2 separate regions of the Homo sapiens genome follow, and region 2 is linked to region 1. Evidence: promoter capture Hi-C in human tissues and cell types (Jung and others, 2019). All regions are on one chromosome and are shown on one strand. Each heading gives the region's core, a stretch centred on a gene start or on the middle of the fragment in contact. The rest is flanking DNA. Distances are from core to core; before and after follow the strand shown. Region 1 holds the start of COPE (coat protein complex I subunit epsilon). Region 2 overlaps ELL (elongation factor for RNA polymerase II).

Region 1 (2,700 bases), core at 170-2,669:
CTCATCTCACACGTGGGAAAAGGGCGCTCAGAGAGGGAAAGGTGCTTGCCCAAGAGAGCACAGCTGGTTAACCCATACCCAGGAGGCCTGCTGGGGGCTTACCTGGTGGGTGTCAGGACGAGGCAGAAGATGCCATAGGGATCCTCAGACAGCTTCTGCAAGATGGGAAGGACAAACGCTGCTGTCTTCCCACTGCCTGTCTTAGCACAGCCCAAGCAGTCTCGACCTGGGTTGGGGACAAAGCAGCATCAACACCCTCCATGTGTGGACAGCTGGGTTTCAGAGACCTTGCCCAGGACACACTGCCAGTGAGTGGCAGGCTGGACTGGAACCCATATCCATTTGACCCGAGATGCCCACAGCTTCCTACCACCTCGTTCTAACTCCGTCCAGGAGCACGTGAATTTGGGGAATCCAGAATTCCCTTCCCTCATATGCATCTTGTGCTCCCTGTTGACCCCTTCATTTGTTTATTTAATCCCTGACTTATCACATCTTAGGCTTCCTGTGGGCCTCTCTTTAATGGCGAAACTGGGTTGGGCTAGAGGAGCAGAGAGAAGACCTTCTCCTAGAGGAGCAATCACAGGACCAAGGAGTCCTGGATCTACCAGCAATTTTGACAGCCTCAACTTCTATTTGTAAAATAAAGATAGCAGTACCAGGTCTGCAGGATTTTGCGATACTATCGGACTAGTCATCCATCAAACCCTCCCTGTGCTGAGACTATGAAAATTTCAGAGATTACATCACTTGCGTACGAACACAAAGCGAGTCAGTCATGCAACCTAAATGCCAACACTGTCCAGTCGTCCTCCGGAACCCCGGATCTCCTGTAACGCCCGAGGTTGCCCCTCGCCTCGTGGGACCGGAATAAGCAAAGGTTGCGAGAAGGGAAAGGAGTCGAGAGGAGCGGAGAGGCCTCTTGGGGAAGGCCCTGGGCCATACTCACCCTCCAGGATGGCGGGGATGCAGCCGAGCTGCACGGGCGTGGGCTGCTTCAAACCCAGCTGCCGACATTGTTCCACGAGCCACGATGACAGCCCGAGCTCCGCGAAGCCTGCCATCCTTGTGGCCGCTTGTAGGGGCCCCTTGTAGGGGCCCGTGTGATCCGCGCTTCCGGCGCGCGCCGACGACGTCACGAGAAAAATCTTCCTGTTTATTGGATCTGCCTCCTGCGTGGTCCCACCCTCTCCAGCTCCCTCAGCCTATTCCCAGCCTCGACCGCATCCTTATCATGTTTCCCCGGATCCCATTGGCTTGCAGAAACACACTACAATTCCCGAGATGCTCTCCGTGACGCACTTACGCCTTCCGCCCCCTTGCATATTATTGTGGAGCTTCCCATTGGCTTACTTCGCCGCCGCTCGGAAAAAGTAAACTACATTTCCTAGCGTGCCCGTGTCTTGCTTCCGGCTGACGTGTCTTTCAGGAAGAGGAGCTGGTGAGAAGACAGCGAAATGGCGCCTCCGGCCCCCGGCCCGGCCTCCGGCGGCTCCGGGGAGGTAGACGAGCTGTTCGACGTAAAGAACGCCTTCTACATCGGCAGCTACCAGCAGTGCATAAACGAGGCGCAGCGGGTGAAGGTGCGGCCGCGCAGGGGCGCGGGGACGCTGGGGGCGGAGGCGGAGGACGCTTTCTGGTGGCCGCGAGCCGCGTTCTGCGTCTAAAAACTTTCTCTTTTCTTCTCGCGTTTTTTGGGCCACCTCTTCCACAGTTCAGTGAGGAGTAGTCACTGTCCCGTGACAGAACCCAGAGCAGTAACAGTTTACGGTACTGCTCACTCGTACAGCGTTCTCTCTGCGCCCTTGAAAGTGTTTTGAGTAAGGGAGGTGTTTATGCCACTGTAGTGACAATAAGCCTATTTTGTTCAGCCATACCTTCAGTTCCCGTGAGATGGAGACTGTTGCTTATCCTCATTTTACGGATGAGAACCCTAAAGTTCAGAGAAGGACGTTTCCCTGCCCAACCAGCCTGGTTATTTCTCCCAGAGCTTACCCATTCATTCATTCATTCTTCATTGAGCACTTTTTTGGACGGGCACTGTATTCCGCTGGACTCAGAATGATAAACACAGTTTCCCAGCGCAGTGGCTCAAACGCCTGTAATTCTGGCGCTTTGGGAGGCCGAGGCGGGCAGATCGCATGCGCCCAGGAGTTCGAGACCAGCTTGGGCAACGTGGAGAAACCATGAGTCTACCAAAAATTAGCCGGGCGTGGTGGCGGGCACTTGTAATCTCAGCTACCGGGAGGCTGAGACAGGAGAATCGCTTCAACCCGGAGGCCGAGGTTGCAGTGAACCGAGATCGCGCCACTGCACTCCAGCCTGGGTGACAAAGTTGTAAGAATTAAAGAGGAAAGAAACACGAAAGGTGGCTTGCCAGTCAAGACAGGTTTATTTTAGAGAAAACAAACCTGAGAGGCGCCTTCTGGCGGAGTTGGGTCAGAGTAACACTCTTTTACAGACTAAGAGTTTTTAAGGATTCAGGGTCGGAGAGTTTATCAGAGGCTTGAACTGCTTCTGTGTCTCTTCGTTGTGCTTATCTGGGAGGGAGAGTTGTGTGTCTGTTCCCATACATCTTTCTTTTTTCTTTTCTTTTCTTTTCTTTTTTTTTTTTTTTTGAGATGGAGACTCGCGCTGTTGCCAGGCTGGAGTGCAGTGGCGTGATCTCGGCTCACTGCAACCTCCGCCCCCAGGTTCAAG
Region 2 (2,890 bases), core at 34-2,533, 430 kb after region 1:
GCCTCTGTCAGACCCAGCAAGGTGGAGGATTTTCCTGAGACAGCACATTCAGGGATCTGTGCGCATCCTAAGCACTCAAGGTGGTTTATGGCCATGCTGAGGGCAACTGTCCCCCAAACCCAGCTGCTCCTCAAGCACGAAGGAAGACTGGGGCCTGGCTCTCGTGGCACCTCCTTGATGCCCACCTCAGGACACATATGTAACGCTTGCTCTGTCCTCACTGGGCCTGCCCATTTGAGGGGTGACCCTACTCTCTGGGGTGGTTGGATTGTCCAGATGTTCCCAGAAGCCTCTGGAGCCCTCAATGGGTTTTTATGGGGAATGCCAGCCCATATGGGCAATGGCTCAGAAGCAGTTACTCCTTTCTCAGGGGGTCTCCTGGTGGGGGGTAGCGGGGTCTGAGCAGCAGGGTCTACACGCACAGGGCCTTCTTTGTGTTCCTGAGTGATTAGGATTTACCCACTGCGTGGTGGTGGAAGCATCGGAGGTGTCAGCATGGCATGTAGCTGACGGTGGAGGCCAGCATCTTGGAAGGCTTTGGTTGGCTGCAGAGGCGCATGTGGGTGAGGTGGCAGGCAGGACCCGATGCCAACCTTTGTGGCTGGCAAGGTCACATCCCTGAGGTCCAGATGTGGCAGCTCCCAGGTTGCAGGTTCAAACTGGGAAGGGGACCTAAGAGCACCCTTGCAGTGAGTACTGGCTGGGGACCACGGGTCATGCCTTGAAGGGTGCCAGATTCTCTTGGCATCCTCTTATTTTTCTGTGATCTTTGCCTATCTTCTGGGACAGGGGTTTGGGTGCTTTGCAGAGGTTGCAGTGAGCAGACAATGAGATGAGGCGGTAAGAGCCGAGTCCGGTGCGGAGCTGTGAATCATCCAGGCGGCTGACGTGACACAGGGGCCCCGTGAAAGGGCGTGGTTTCTGCTTCAGAGACAGGCTCCCTTCTCAGAACCGCCTGGGTCTCTGAGGGCCTCAGGGGCAGCCTTGGTGAGTGTGGCCGACCACCGGAGGAGGAAGGACGGTCCTCCTGGGTCCTGAGTGTGTGCCTTGGTAGCTTGGCAAGCTGCCATCTCCTTCTGACCTGGGTCACATCCACAGTGGACACTCCCAGGACCGCACCCCCACTCTGGGTCACAGAGTACATCTTGGGTGGGTCTGTTGTACATAGACTGTTAGAAACGGGGCAGAGTGGCCTGAGGACGAGGTGCTCAGCAGCCTCTCTCTTCCTGCCCCTGTTGAGCCAGTGCCTGACACTGACCGCCCTTGGGGCCCTGAGCTAAGCTTCACACAGAAGCCCCTCCCCAGATTCCTTCCCAGGTTGCAGGGCTCCCACCCGAGGTGGAGCCCCCTCTGCAGGGCAGCCTGGGGGTGTTTGTGCTGTGGGGCTTGTTGCTTCCTGCCAAGGTCAGCAGGGGGTGGCTGTGCTCTCAGGGAGAAACAGTGGCTGAGGGGCTTCGTGATGCATCCAGGAGAGTGCCTTAACTGTTTTCATCCCCGTAGCTTGCTTTCTTTTTTTTTTTTTTGAGACAGAGTCTCGCTCTGTCGCCCAGGCTGGAGTGCAGTGGTGTGATCTTGGCTCACTGCCACCTCTGCCTCCTGGGTTCAAGCAATTCTCCTGCCTCAGCCTCCCAAATAGCTGGGACTATAGGCGTGTGCTACCACGCCCGGCTAATTTTTTGTATTTTTAGTAGAGATGGGGTTTCACCGTGTTAACCAGGATGGTCTCAATCTCCTGACCTCGTGATCCGCTCGTCTTGGCTCTCAAAGTGCTGGGATTACAGGTGTGAGCCACCGCGCCCGGCCCATCCCCGTAGCTTTCCCAGTGACTGTGAATGTGGCACGAATTTGGGCAAGGGATACCCTCTGCCTCCAACCACCAGGCCTCATGGGGCACCCTGGGCTGGGCCTGAATCTCGCCTCTAAGATGAGCCTTAGAGTTGGGGGCCAGACCTGGTCTCCCTGGTCTCCCTGGTCTCCCTGGCCCTGGGAGGAGATGGGCTCCCATAGTGGAGTGTTAGCTGTTTTCAGGGGAGAGGTGGAGGCAGCTGGAAAGCTTGGGTGCACTGGGGCTCGGCAGAAGGGGCCAGTCTGCTCTGTGGTGAGGCTGAGGACGGGTGGCCTTGGGAGTGTGGCAGAGAGGAGGCGCTCTAATAGCAGTTGAGCTTGGAAGGCCCAAAAGTGAGGTGGCCCTACAGACTGACAGGTCGAAGGCACACACATGGCCTTGTCTGCAGGGGAGTTGAGATGGAGGCCTGGAGGGGCCTCCTGGGGAGAGGAGAGCCCATGGGCCGCTTCTGCTGGGCTCCAAATAGTCCCATGGAGGTGAATGGGGTTTGGGACCTCCTAGCTGCCTGAGCAGGAAGCACAGTGGCAAGGCAGAGCTGCATTCTCAGGGACCCAACCCCCACAGAGGCCTGGCCTGGGCTCTGATGAGGGGATGGCCCATGTCAGGCCCTAGAGCGTTCTCATTCACCTCAGAAACGTCAGGAACCCAGGGCTAGGAGAGGCCCATGCTGTGCCCTGGAGGACCCCAGTGACCTAGGTCAGTCCCTTAGCTTCTTCCATTGTCAGATGTGATCAGATCATGGTCACTGTTGTCTGGGGGAAAGCAGTTGTTATCTGGCACCGCAGACCATGGGCAGAAGGCAGGTTTGGTGAGAGGGCAGTTTCTCGAAGGCCTTCCGTTCAAAATTCCTAGGTCCAGTACCTGTTGTTGGTGAGTTTTAGTGAATGATTAAAAAGAAAAACAAAACCCCACCAAACTCTTGCACTCCTCTTGAGGAGCACAGGTGGAGGCAAAAGAGCATTGGTTGTGAAGCCTCATGTGCTTCCTTGCCGGTTTTGTTATGTTTTGTTTTGTTTTGTTCTAAAGACAGTATCTCTCTCTGTC

Evidence for each region. The method cuts DNA at HindIII sites, captures the fragments that hold promoters and counts their contacts. A contact is called where the count stands out against the background at its distance.
Region 2: a fragment that was not itself captured here is called in contact with the fragment with the promoter of COPE in region 1 in 1 of the 25 tissues and cell types used here (lymphoblastoid cells).

What each region holds. Positions count from the first base shown.
Region 1 is chr19:18,918,106-18,920,805 of GRCh38, reverse strand. It overlaps COPE (coat protein complex I subunit epsilon), which reads left to right and starts at 1,419. Exons shown (of 10, transcript NM_007263.4): 1 at 1,419-1,583. The coding sequence starts at 1,458. DDX49 (DEAD-box helicase 49) reads right to left here and starts at 1,091. Exons shown (of 13, transcript NM_019070.5): 1 at 950-1,091; 2 at 103-226. The coding sequence starts at 1,064. RefSeq lists enhancers at 817-1,416, 2,319-2,700 and a silencer at 1,497-1,686. The HindIII fragment of the contact is 15,077 bases long and covers 1-2,326 here.
Region 2 is chr19:18,484,619-18,487,508 of GRCh38, reverse strand. The region is part of intron 1 of ELL (elongation factor for RNA polymerase II); the gene reads left to right. Among named protein-coding and RNA genes, the nearest start is that of ELL, 36 kb to the left of the region's middle. RefSeq lists enhancers at 1,457-2,042, 2,890. The HindIII fragment of the contact is 6,018 bases long and covers 1-2,890 here.